Linked DNA regions of Homo sapiens: all the other regions are linked to region 1. Evidence: promoter capture Hi-C in 16 types of primary human blood cells and fetal thymus (Javierre and others, 2016). All regions are on one chromosome and are shown on one strand. Each heading gives the region's core, a stretch centred on a gene start or on the middle of the fragment in contact. The rest is flanking DNA. Distances are from core to core; before and after follow the strand shown. Region 1 holds the start of FAM53B (family with sequence similarity 53 member B). Region 2 overlaps CHST15 (carbohydrate sulfotransferase 15). Region 3 overlaps CHST15 (carbohydrate sulfotransferase 15). Region 4 has its middle 11 kb from the start of CHST15.

What was found. Contacts are between HindIII fragments. The CHiCAGO score rates a contact against its expected background, and 5 or more counts as called.
Region 2: a fragment that was not itself captured here is called in contact with the fragment with the promoter of FAM53B in region 1 in 5 of 17 cell types (naive B cells, total B cells, neutrophils and 2 more); the score reaches 12.3 in naive B cells.
Region 3: a contact is called between a fragment that was not itself captured here and the fragment with the promoter of FAM53B in region 1, in 1 of 17 cell types (total B cells). The highest score is 7.5, in total B cells.
Region 4: a fragment that was not itself captured here is called in contact with the fragment with the promoter of FAM53B in region 1 in 2 of 17 cell types (naive B cells and total B cells); the score reaches 7.0 in naive B cells.

Annotation. Positions count from the first base shown.
Region 1 is chr10:124,742,635-124,745,860 of GRCh38, reverse strand. It overlaps FAM53B (family with sequence similarity 53 member B), which reads left to right and starts at 1,483. Exons shown (of 5, transcript NM_014661.4): 1 at 1,483-1,848. RefSeq lists silencers at 1,245-1,384, 1,515-1,564, 1,585-1,694, 1,745-1,904, 2,225-2,434 and 1 more. The HindIII fragment of the contact is 7,750 bases long and covers 1-3,226 here.
Region 2 is chr10:124,009,713-124,012,938 of GRCh38, reverse strand. CHST15 (carbohydrate sulfotransferase 15) reads left to right here. Exons shown (of 8, transcript NM_001270764.2): 7 at 459-606; 8 at 2,600-3,226. The coding sequence ends at 2,790. Among named protein-coding and RNA genes, the nearest start is that of CHST15, 82 kb to the left of the region's middle. The HindIII fragment of the contact is 4,917 bases long and covers 1-3,226 here.
Region 3 is chr10:124,079,025-124,082,250 of GRCh38, reverse strand. The region is part of intron 1 of CHST15 (carbohydrate sulfotransferase 15); the gene reads left to right. Among named protein-coding and RNA genes, the nearest start is that of CHST15, 13 kb to the left of the region's middle. The HindIII fragment of the contact is 3,880 bases long and covers 1-3,226 here.
Region 4 is chr10:124,102,927-124,106,152 of GRCh38, reverse strand. No RefSeq gene overlaps it. Among named protein-coding and RNA genes, the nearest start is that of CHST15, 11 kb to the right of the region's middle. The HindIII fragment of the contact is 4,592 bases long and covers 1-3,226 here.

The sequences.
Region 1 (3,226 bases), core at 234-2,733:
AGTTGACCTGATGAACTAGTAATTGTAGGAATAAACTGAATGTTTGCCAGCAGGAGTCACTCTAGGCTTCCTAATAAAACGTTAGTAAATTAAACTCTGTCCTTAAAGCTCTGAAAGGCTGAGGTGATTGTGTGATATCAGATGGCTTTAGGGAAACACTGACTCTTTTCGTTAAGCATAGCAGCATTCTTAGATTATTCCTTGGGCCTTCTTTTGTTCACCATCGGTTCTTGGATCTTGTTCCTTTCAAGATTGGTCCTTAATGCATTTTTAAAAAGCAACGTATATGGGTAAGGATATCAATATCTTAGTATGCTGTATTCTGTATGTTAGCTCATTTTGGCTTTCTAGGATGAACTGACTCTATCCCACATCATGTAACTTGAAATGAATAGACTCATATCCTTTCCACTGATTGCTGTCCATTCTAATCATGCAGCAGAACTCAGTGGAGCGAGCTGTAGTGTGAAAGGAGATGTCAGTTCATGCTTTTCTGAAAAGAATGGGTCCGGTGTGATGATATTCTGAAATATTTCAGCAATAGCCATGAAATATAATAGTTTCCCAAGCACACAAAGCTCAAGAAGTTAATTGTTCATTTATGTTTGATACTGGGATTGAAACATTGGATTAAAACCAATTAAATGTTCCTAGAAGCAACAGAAAAAGTTTCCTTATTTATGAATAGAACCATTCAAATGGCGCAGACACAATCCATGTAAAGTAATGAGGTGTTTTGTTTTTTTGGCAAAGGAGAACACAAAACAGGCATAGGGAGTTTTAAAAAAACTTCTCTTTAAAAATCGCTTTTTGGATACAAGGTCAATAAAATAACATACACCAGTAGGAAGGAGTAATGGGAAATCTAGGGCTTCACAAGGAAAACAATCCCCCTCCCCCAGGTGAGCAGCACAATGAAAATACTCTGCTTATTCTATCAGGGTTACATTCCTGAACTTAAGTCAACATCCTAAGTTACAGAACTAAACATGCTCTGCCTCTGCTTAGCAACCACAAATCCTTCCTTCGCCAGTTGCATGTATTTTGGATGTGGCTTCTGAAGTACACAGTCACAGCGCCCCGAGTTAGGAAATTTGCGCTTTATTTTCCCAAAGTGTGACAACACTTTAAGGTCCCCCCTCCCCGACCCCACCCGCCCGCTGTCCTGCACGCCACTGAAGTGATCGTTTCTTTTGAACCTCGGCATCTAACAACCCGGAAGCTGGACGCCTGAAGCCTATGCGGCCCAGCGTTTTCATCCCGGCTCGTGCTGGGGGCGGGGAGAGAAGCCCGTAGGGCCTCTGGCGCGGGGCCCGGGCAGCCGCGGTGGCGCGGCCCAGGCCCGGGGCCACTTCCCGCGTCCCGGGGCCTCGCAGGCGCGAGCGCGGCGAGCGGCGCGCGGCTGAGCCCGCAGGACGCCCTCTAGCCCCGCCGGCGGCGCGCCGCGAGTCCCTCACTCCCCGCCCATCGGCGGCTGCGCGCACTGCACACTCGCCTGCCGCCGCCGCCGCACGCCGCCTGCCTCCTGCACGCCGCCGCCGCGCCTAGCGCCCGGGCCCGCGACACCGCCCGCTAAGCGCCGGGCCGAGTTCACGCAGCCGCGGTCTGGCGGCTCCGCGGCGGCGGCGGGTGCGGGCGGCCTGGCCGGTGCCGGTTAAAGGGACGAGTTGCAAACACTTCAGGAAGTGACAAGTCGATTTCCTCCTCCCCGGGAGTCGCTCGTACAAAGCGCTCGGCGCCGGCAGGCGAGCGTGCGCGCGGCGGACGCGCGGCGGGCACCCCGGACGACTTGGCGAGCGCTGGCGGTGACGGCGCGGGGTCCGCGCCCGGAGCGCCCCGCCGCGCACAGTAAGCGACCCGGGGCCGGGCGGCGGCGGCGGTGGCCGGGGGGCTGGCCCCGAGCGAGGTCCGGGCCGTGTGCGTCCCGGCCGCTGGCTGGAGGGAGCCCGGCTCGCGTGCGCAATGGGCTTGCCTTTTTTTTTTCTTTTTTCCTAATGTTGCTGGTTTCCTTTTTTTCTGCCTTGTTTCGCCTTTGGGTTGGGTCGGGCGGTTTCTCCGGGCGCTCGGTCTCGCCCCTGATGCAGGCGTGAGACTTGTCAGAGCACAGGCATGGGGAAGAACAAGCCTGGCTGCGGCGGAAAAGTCTGCGCTCCCCAGGCCAGGGCGGGCGGGCGCGGGGACTGCTGCGCCCGGGGGTGTCCTCTCCGCGTCTCAACTTGAGCCCTGACTAGCCGCTGCGGAGGAGGCGCGGAGTCTCGGGAGCCGGGCGGCCCCATTCGCCCCGAAGTTCCCGCATCGTTTGCAGACAACTCTTTTGTTCGCGGAAGTTTGCACCCGCCACCCCCGGGGTGCGGGAGCGAGGCGGCGGGCTCCGCTGCTGCTGGACTGTCCGGGGCGGTCAGGATGGGGGTGAGGGGGCATTCTGTCCCGGGCGGGGGAAGCCCGCGGGGAGGCCACCGCTGGGGCTTGCGGAGTGGGGGCGTCCGCGCCGGCGTGGCTTTTGCACATGGCGAGAAGGGCCGTCCGGCACAGGCACACTGGTCGAGTCACATTTTTGCTAGTCTTGGATTTTGCAAGCCCGTGGGAGTCAGGTTCCCCGCTCAGGGTTTCTCTTGGGGCAGAGACGAAAGAAACGAGGACACCCAGAATCCGGGGAGGGTTTGCGGTTTGTGTTGTCCCAAGTGTGTTCTCGCTCCCCCCGCCCCCCCACCTTGTCCCCCAGCCCCCAGCTCTCCACCCCCATTTTCGGACTTGGGGAACAATGCTTGTAGTACGGGCCGGGGCGCCGCAGCAGCGACGAACCGCGCGGACAGGTTTGCCCGGGTCCCTCGCGTTCGGACGCCCCCTGAAGCCGAGCTCCTTCCATCTGACCGCCCGGGCTCATTAACACGTACTGTACTTAGGACGATGGTGAACAAAGAAAAGCTCTTTGCAGCGTTTGATGAATGGGATTCTGCCTCCTATAGGCCACACTCCGAGTCTTCCATACGGTACAATCTCCGGACTCGGTGGTGTTAGGAAAGTGGCCCCCGGAATGGCTTGCATTCCGGGTCTGGGATCCTGGGGTGGGCATTTGTGCCGTCGCCTTCGCCGCCGCGCTCGCCTTGCAGGAGCGGGTGCAGATGGAGCCAGGCTGACGGTTGTTCAACAGGAACAAATGTTTGTTCAATTGTTGGATGGTGGAGAAAAGGGACTGTTTCCTATTGACTGCTGCAGGAGTTGGAAT
Region 2 (3,226 bases), core at 433-2,932, 730 kb after region 1:
TTCCTCTGGCATCAGGCATTTGGCTCTTCACTCATGTAGGTTGTCTTTGGGGTGTCTGTGGTTGATTTTTCACATCCCGTTGTGTGCTGGGCATAGAGGTCACACTGGGAACAGAGAAACAGCCAGGATATTGTGCGAGGAACATGTACACCATTGGTGGCCACAACCTTGACCTCTTCCCTGCACTTCAGTCCTTACCTGTGAAATGGAGGCATGGCGCTACCCACAGGGTGTTGTGAGGATGAAATGCAACCCCTAATATAGGAATTCTTTGCACATGTAGCACAAAACCCCCCATAAAGAAGCAAGAACACCTTGTGTTAAAATCCAGCTTCTGAAAGTAACTTTGCTAGGATAACTCTTTTGTGGTACAGTGAAATGCCATACCACTTTGGAAAAGTGCCCTATGGTGTTGGGGCAACTGCTCCTGAAATAATGCCCTTCTTCTGTGGTCCTAGGTGAGGCTCCAGGTTGGGCTCTATGCTGTGTACCTTCTGGACTGGCTCAGCGTTTTTGACAAGCAACAGTTTCTCATTCTTCGCCTGGAAGATCATGCATCCAACGTCAAGTACACCATGCACAAGGTCTTCCAGTTTCTGAACCTAGGTATGAGTGTGGTGCTTAGACTGACGGGCCAAAGCATGAGCTCCGTGGACTTGTTCTGGGAGTCCTCTGGGGCAAATGCAGACCTGGTCAGCTGGGTGGGAATGGGCTGAGCTGGGAGGCCTGGGGATGTCCTTCAGGAGGCCTGTTAAGTACCATTTATTGAGCACTAGCTGTACATAGGTCATTGTGCACAGTATGGTGAGGGATTCTCTGGAGAGAAGGAGATGGTTTCCCTTCTGGGAGCTTATGGTCTAGTGAAGGGAGAGGAGGAAGCCATAGCTCACCTAACTGAATGACAGGTAGGATGCCGTGGGGAAGGTCAGCACTGTCATGTAAGGTATGTGCTGATGGTTTGGGATCCCAGCTACTGCACGGATGAGGAAGGCTTCATGGAAGGAAAGGGCCTGAGAGCTGAGCTTTGTAGGACCAACAGGATGTCACCGGGGGGCTGGAGCAGAGGACTTGGGGCTTAGAGGAGGGAACAGACAGATCATTGCATCATCTCCGGTATTCTTGGAAATTCCAGGAGTCAGAGCCGTGTGGCTGAGTTTTGGCTGCTGATCATGGATGCTGGGCCCCTGGGGCATGAGCGCCTGCCCTCAGCCTGTGGATACCAGCCCCCCCAGGGGCCTGAGAGTCACTTTGTGGTGACAGGCCACACTGCTGACTATGGTGATGGCTGGCAGAGGCATGTGCTGGCGGAGCGAGTGCTGCCCATGTGGACGGGGCACCGAGGGATGGCTTGAAAGGCTGAGCAGGCTCGAACAAGCCGCCCTCCTTCCCAGAACGCCTCCTGCAGCCCTGACTAATGGTCTTGCCCGGGAACTTGGTTAATTGAGTATTTCTGAAAATATATCTGCCTGCCACTGGGACTTGGGCCTCTTTGATCATTTGATTTTGTTTCTCCTTTTTTTGGAGTTTGATGAGTTCTTTCCCTTCCAAGGCTTAGAATCATCTTTCTTTGATTTGACCACATGTTGACTCTGTCCCATTAATGAGCTTGTCTTTTGTCCCCAAGATGGATAGTAAGGCCAATTCTGTGTTTCATATGGCCCTAGGATGCTGGGACATGCTTTTTCTGTCTATGGGCTAAGGACTTTGGCCAGATCCCAAGAGCCCCCGGTAAAGAGGCTTGAGCAGTGATGGGTTACACCAAGAAGCTGTGGCCCAGAGGGCGGGGCGTTGGGGTCGCAGCCCTTGCTGTTCTGTTTCAGGGCCTCTCACTCCAGAGGGCGGGGCGTGTGCGTGACTGACAGCCCCTCCCGGCCTTTTCCAGGGCCTCTCCTCACTCCAGAGGGCGGGGCGTGGCGGTGACTGACAACCTCTGCCAGCCTGTTCCAGGGCCTCGCCTCACTCCAGAGGGCGGGGCGTGGGGGTGACTGACAGCCCTTGCCGGCAGGCCTCTTCTCCCTGATCTCCTTGCTGCAGATGGAGGTTCAGCCAGTGGGGGCTCTGGGCACAAGTGGCCTCCTCCCAGCCCTCCTCCCTATGGCCACTTCACAGCAAGACGCACAGGGTGAAACTGTGCAGGCCCAGGGACCTTGGCATGAGCAGCCTGAAGTAGAAACGATGATGGCGGAATTCCAGAGGGCTGCTGAGCAGGAAAACCGAAACCCGTGGGCTGTGCTCGGCAGGCCGCACGTTCCTCCAAGGACGGGCTGACACCCATGGAGAGCAGCCCACCAAGGGCAATTGGAAGGGAATCCTTGAGGTCAGCCTTAGACGCTGTATCATCATTAAATGCCAGCTGGGCTCCCCCGAGGGTGGGCATCCTGCACCCGCCGCAGAATTTCTTCGCAATTTCCTGATGGTGTTTCCACCTTCCTCCCTCAGTGCTTCCAAAATGGATCCAGCCAAAGAATTTTAATCCCTAAATATGTTCTCTTAAAGGAAACTCCTGTCTGAATACGAAGCATAGCTGGGATTTTTGCAAAGTCCCTTTTACTTCCTGCCATGCCTCCTGCCTTACGGGACTCGTCTTCTTTTATTCTAGGGCCCTTAAGTGAGAAGCAGGAGGCTTTGATGACCAAGAGCCCCGCATCCAATGCACGGCGTCCCGAGGACCGGAACCTGGGGCCCATGTGGCCCATCACACAGAAGATTCTGCGGGATTTCTACAGGCCCTTCAACGCTAGGCTGGCGCAGGTCCTCGCGGATGAGGCGTTTGCGTGGAAGACGACGTGAGAGCTGAATTGTTGCTGCACGTGCTGGGCCCGCCAATGCCGTCATCATCAGGATTTTACAAATCTCTTTGCGGGGAACTGTTTCACTCATGGTATGGAAAACCCCAGGACTCTGCCACTCTAGGCACACATGAATTATAACCATTTTGGAATTTCCTTCGTGATGTTCGAGAGCTCAGCAATGGACCCCTCACAGAGCTCCTCTATCCGAGGCCATTGGAGACCCCAGTTTCTCAAGAATTCAGCTCTGCTCTGAGCGTCCTGGAGCTTGGGGATGCAGCCAGCTGGCCTGCACTGGGTGTGGAGAGAACACCTAGGGAAGGCAGCCTGGCCCTGCCCGCCTCCGCCTTCTGGAGAGCCTCTGGGTTCTGAGTCAGCAAGCCAGAGGTCATGCCACAGGCCTGGCTGGAACTTACACTTCACGTTCCCTTTTTTTC
Region 3 (3,226 bases), core at 336-2,835, 660 kb after region 1:
GTTGCCTTCTTGACTGGCCTGGGGCAGCAGATTAAGGTGGGTTGGGTGAACAGATGGTGGTTAGCTTGCCCTCTTTTATGTGATTATGGGTCAAGGTTTTCAGTCATCCAATGTACTCTTGCCTGTTTTCCTTTCACCCATCTGTCTGTCCATCCAATGTCCATCTGATGTCCGAGGCCCAGAACATCTCCCCATCCACCAGCGGCCGAATAAGAACAGCACCTTGTGGCGCCAGCATCTTTCTAGTTCTTTCTCCCCTGCGGTGATGGGCGGCCCGGCTGCTTATCCGGGGAATAATTAAATTAGGAACCAATTCAGAGAATGAAATTTTATCTGATTTGGCCAAGCCCGTAATAAGCAAGGGGCTGTAATTGTGACTCCAGGATACATTAGGAAGTTGTTTTTTCAAGGGTACGCTGGGTGAAAGCATTGAAAGAAATATGTGGAGACCAGGCCGGGAGATCTCCCTGGGCCAGGTTTCTTGCATGGCCTGGGGGTGTGGTCCCACAGGGCGGCTGTGTCCTCAGGCTGGTCCTTCCAGCGTTTATGTTTCCAGGCACCATTTAGCTCTGATGAGGTAGATAAAAGTGTTTTGTGGCTGGAGTGTTCTCTGTGCTTAGGAAAGTTCTGTTAAAATCCTTATGGATATCTATCTCATTGTTATCACTGATATTCTAAAGCACCTTTACAACTGTAATAAGAAGTAAACTTGGCAGAAACTCTGTGGCTATAAATCAGGGGTGCCGCTTTGCAACCCCCACGGAGCTTATTGAAAGAAATGCACATACTTTGGTCCTACATCAGCTGTTACATCAAGTCTCCGGGGATGGATGCTGGGCATTTGTGTGTGTGTGCACGCGTGTGTGTGTGCATGCGTGCATGTGTGTGCATGCGTGCATGTGTGTGCATGCATGGACCTGGATTCGTTAAGCTCTTTAGCTAAGAAACGCTGAGGGAACTTAGCAGTGATTGTAATCATTCTTCTAATGAGAATTTCCAGTTCTCCTATGGCAAAGATAAGGGACAGATAATTAGCACAGTGGTCTCAGGAATGAGCCTCATTTGTCCTCAATCTGTGATGAGACTTTGTGACTGTCTTTGAGTTTCATGTTCAGATTCCCTGATTGTAACTAACACACATTGTTCATCACTTGGTAGCAGTGGTGGAATTTTAGATCTGTTTTTCTCTTGGGGAAGGACCCCATTCTCATCCCCACAGTGGCCCAGGCTGGAGGCCCAGGAGTCTCCTTTGACAGATAGCTGGTCAGTGCAGAATTGCTTCCTTTGTGTCTCTGCCACTGGAAGGTTATCTGTTCCTTCAGAACAGGAAATGTGTCTTATTCAACGTGGCATCCCCAGGGCCTAGTCCATGGGAAAGAATGATTGGGCCGATGGACAGACAGATGGGTGAAAGGAAAACAGGCAAGAGTATAGTGAATAATTGAAAACTTTGACCCATAGTGCAGGGATGGTGAGTGTCTTTCAGATCGTCTGTTTATAGCTGGGGAAACGGAGGCCTGCAGAAGTCAGTGACTTGCCCTAATCCTTCAGCTTTGATCAAGAAGAACATTGGGGAGCCTGGCCCTTCAATGTCTTCAACTCTTCTGACTCAGGCTCTGCACATCCTCTTGAGAGTCACCCTCCAGTGAAAAGAACTCTTTATTGAGGCCCTGCTGTGTACCCCATGCTGTTCTAGGAGCTGGGGATCTAGCAGTGAGTTAGACACACAGGGTCCCAGTGCTCACAGAGGGCATATCCTCATGGAGAGAGACAGGCAGCAGACAAGGTCGCAAATATCAGAGAATAGACAGGCATAAGGGCCATGTGCTGGAGTGACCAGCTGGTGTGCGGGAAAGGCCTTTCCACAAAGGTGACATCTCCGTTGATTCTTGAATGTTCAGAGGGTGCTGCTGTCTGATGCTTGGAAGGAGGGAACAGTCAGTGCCAGGACCCCAAGGGGAGAACCTGTTGATGGGATGGGATTCATTTATGCTCGGGAGAAAGAGACTTGGTTTATTGGACGCCTGGGTTGATTTTCTTCTCTTCTGCATCCTCTGCACTGACATTTGCAGCTCTGCCTTCTCCCCGTCCCGTCTCTGGGTGAAGAACACCTGTCCGATGCTCGCTGGCCTGCAGCTGCTGCAGAGTTTCAGAAAACAGGGCTAGCAAAAAACAAAGCAAAACCCCAACATCCCTGTCCTCTCACTAAGGGCTTGGCTGGGGAGGCAGAGTTATTTTTATGTAAGCACATGCTTGAGGGGGTACGTCTTGGGGTGGGCAGCTGAAACCACACTCATAAAAACAAGACCGAAATAGGACTGTGAATTCCCAAAGGTGAACACAGGCCGTTAACTTGAATTTGGTGACAGTTCCATGCAGCCTAGGTCCTGGAGCGGGAACCCTTTGGAGGGGGATGAGGCATGGAAAACTGTTTGCTGATTTGGCCTCTTCTTTAAGCATTGCTTTCCGGCCCTGGCTGTGACAGAGACCTGGCCCTTGCTCAGGATTTGAGCCCCCTCAAGGGGAAGTTCTTCCTCCCTCCTGGTGCTGCCTCCAGCTGTTTCTGTCTCCTCGTCAGTAAGAACCTCTGTTTCTTGAGGGCCCTCCTGTTGGTTGTCCTCTTGTTGCAGCCACCTCCCTACCTGCGAGGGAGTGGGCCCCAGGCTGCCTCTCCATCCCAGGTCCTGCTGTTAACCTGGGTAACCGTGGTCTCCATGGGGCAGCACTCTGGCCTCCCAGGTCCTGCATCAGGACACCCTGAACCTTGTCTACTCCTGGACTGCTCCATACCACATGGAGTCCGTCCTTGTTAATGACGTGTTAATGCCAGGCTTTCTTGTGGAAACCACACCCAAGACACCAGCTGGTCAACCTGACACACAGTAGGGCCTCAACGGATTGTGTCATCAGTTATTTTCATAAACTTTAAATCTCTTTCTGGTCTCCCCAGACATCCTTAAGAGTGATCCTTTGTCACATTGCAAAGTTTTCCCAATAAATATTGGTCAGTAGTTGTGACAGTAATATACATCTCCATTTTATGTTGTTGACTAATTTTTAAATGGTGGACAAAACATAAATTTTTCTACATTTTAATAAATGGAAAGATAAAAGAAATTTTTTTTTCTGAGTAGTTTGGTTTAGAATCATTCCAGTTGTTCATTCAGCATCTCTTCCCAAGTCACATGAGTCCTACACCAGGCAGCTGTGGCTGTATTGACATGCT
Region 4 (3,226 bases), core at 198-2,697, 640 kb after region 1:
TCAAAAGCAATGCTGTCTCTCAAATACAAGTTTCCTTTTCTATAGAATGGTTCGAATAAGGTGTAGACCCAGGGATGCTGTGAGATTAAGATTTTCGAAGTTAAGGGGCTTTAGCAGGGAGAGCGCTGGACTCGGATTTCAATCCTTCCTGATACAGTTATGACTTATCGGCTGTGAGTCCCTGGGTAAGAGGTTTCCCCTTTCTGAGCTTATTGTTTCACTTATAAAATGGGGCATTAATATTTCCTACACGAACCTTTAAGAGATAGGTACCAGGGCCCAAAGAACTGCATGAATATAAGTGCGTTTGCACAGAGATACTTACGGCATGATTATTTTTGGTGTGTTGCTACTGCAGCACTTTGCCTGGGGCAGGTCCTGTTCAGCCTTGGGACCTTGTTTATTTGTATTAGGCTTTTTGATGAGACTGGGGAGAGCTCCTTCACTAGGACTTCACAGAAAAGAACTCGTCTGTCTTTCCCTTCACATAATTAATATTCCAAATAAGAATTACACAGCCATTTCTATTAATATTTGATTCTTTGCCTCTTCAACTATCGGCTTAGTTTTCTGACTGAGATGAAAGAAGAAATAATTGTTTTTACAGCCACTCCTACTGAGGAGGCAGCTGTAGACCCTGATCGCAGCCAGGGAAGTAACAACTTTGTTTGGCCTGAGGACAAGAGGTGGGATGACGGTGTTAGCCTCAGTGGTTCCTGTGGGGAGAGAGAAGCCCCCCTCGGCTGCTTTTGAGGCAGATCCTGAAGGAATCGGCTTCTGAGTTCTGAGTGCCTTGGAGGCATGGGGAAGGCCTGCTGGAAGGCTGGTTCAGATGTGCTCCCTGCTGGGAAGAGATTGGTGCTCCACTCCCAGGACTTATAGAAGCCCAGCCTGGGGGAGGCAGATAATTAGCAGATGGGGCCAGAGGGTGACTTTCAGCTTCGACTCCAACACAGCCCCTGTTGGGCACCTGCAGGAGGCAGACAAGTACCTGGCTCGGAGGACGACTGGGCACGGCCTCCTCATCTTGGTAAAGACAATGGGGCTTCCCACTCTGGAAGGACAGAAGCCAGCCCTACACATGGTGCAGTGCCTGGGGGCCTCTGTGGTCCAGGAGATGTCCTTCTCCACTCCTTCACTTCTCAGAGGCTGGGCTCCTGCCTCCTGGAAAATTGCCACCACCCGGGGCCCAACCAGAGGCCAGATATCCCCAGAGGCATGGGGATAGTGAGGGGGTAGCCCCTGATCAGAGTCTCCACCTGGACTGAATTCTTAGAATTTTATGTTGCCCCAGCATCCATTTTGAATATAAATTTAACTTTCTCAGACCAGAGGTAGAGCTTGGACCCACCTGACAGTTTCCACTTCTCTGGCTCCTCCCAGTTCCTCAATGTGTTTGATCCAGACCTCTGCCTTATACCAGGCCTCCTGGTGACCATGTCCCCCACCACCTATGGGACAGCTGGGTACAGCCTACTCGATTCACCCCACTGACGTCCAGACTGCATGGACTGAGCAGATATGCCGCAGCGACCCCCTCTCTACCACAGCAACCCCATGGAACGTGTGCCTGCTTGCTCTAAACCCACCAGCTATAACTCCCATGGGAAACCTGCTTAGATAAGGCCCTGGACCCCAGTAAAGGTTCTGGCCCATGGGTCCCCCCGGCCCTGCTCCCGACGTGCTGGTGGAGCCTGTGTGCCCCAGACAGCTCCCTGCTGCCCGCTGGCCCTGAGGCATGCTGCCCTCTTCTCTCTGGGACCTGTAAGTAATAACACCTGGTTCTGTTATTTCATGTGTTTTGCTGAGTTACCTCCTCTGTGTCTCACTTGACTGACACACCCAAATCTACCTTCCCTTTTGCTCAGTGCTGTCCTAGAGAGTGGCTGTCCTGGTAGGAATAAACTGGACACAAGTCAGGCAAGAGTCACAAGGGCATCTGCCAGCACAAAGGACAGGGACACCTGGTCATGGGTCAGACACTTAGGCCTCAATCAAGCCGTTCCCCAGGGCAAAGAAGCATCCCATGAAAGGTACACAACCACCTCCCCTGCAGCGCTGTCAGGGCAGGGCTAGAGCTTATAGCTGCTCTCCTAGGAGAGACCTGAAGGCCACATTAGGGGACAATATAACACCAGCCTTGGAGCCTTTGCAAACTCTGTTCCAAAGCGAGAAGTCATTGTGATGCCATGTTTAGAGGCAGGTGGCCCCAGGCAGCAGGGACACCATCAAAGGTGGTGTCCACCATCAAAGGTGGTGTCCACTGTGAGTTGTGCCCCATCTGTAGGCCCTGCTCCACCTCTGTTTTGTCCTAGTCTCAGCTCCATCACCCCTCTACCCCCTCCCGTGATAGAGCCTGGCCTGGCTTGGGAATAAAAGGAGAAAACAGGAAATAGCAAACCGCCCCAAGGATTGTAATTGTGACACTGTCATCTGAAAATGTTTGCAGTCCTTGTTGGCATATGCTGCTGGAGCAAAAACATGCAAATCTGGAGCAAGGTGACAGGTGGCCCTTAGGATCCTGGAGGAGACCCCTGGGTTCCAGTTTGGTTCTAGTCTGCTGGGGTGGGATTCTCAGACAGCATCTGGCCCATTTCTGGGTTGGATGGTACTCTGAACAGGGCACTGATTCAAGGGCCAATGAGTCCCATCCCAACTCCTGCAAAGCTGTGTGCATTTTGCCAACTGCATGAGCTTGTAGACGGGGCAGTGTCCTCTCAGTCCTACTCAAACCCTTGCAGGCTCAGCTTAGCTGGAGCACCTGGAAGCCATTGGTGCAGAGCCACAGACTCAGCCGCTGGTGTTTATCACCCCAGAGGTTGCAAAGTGATGGCCTGTGGGACTCTCCTGCAATCTGATGGCATTGGTTCTCACTGTGTTGTACAATTATTTTTTCTGATTTAGTTGCCCATCCAAGATTTATTTTTTAAATTGGGCTATTTCACAATAATGTTCAAATTTCAGACTCCCGTCCTCCATCCAGCGGGAGCTGAGACATAGCTGCTTCCTTGGATGGGCTGGTGTGCTCCACCGTGCTGAAGACCCGTTCCCTGTTGGCCACCTCAGGTCCTCTCATTCATTTCCCAGCCCCCCTCGCCTGGGTAGGTCAGGACTGCCCAACCATGCTCTACACTATCTAAGAGAAGCCAGAACAGGGCAGGTGGCAGGCTGCGGTGTCTTTGCCTGAGCTAACAGGCATGCCCTAGTATAGTGCCGGGCACAAGGT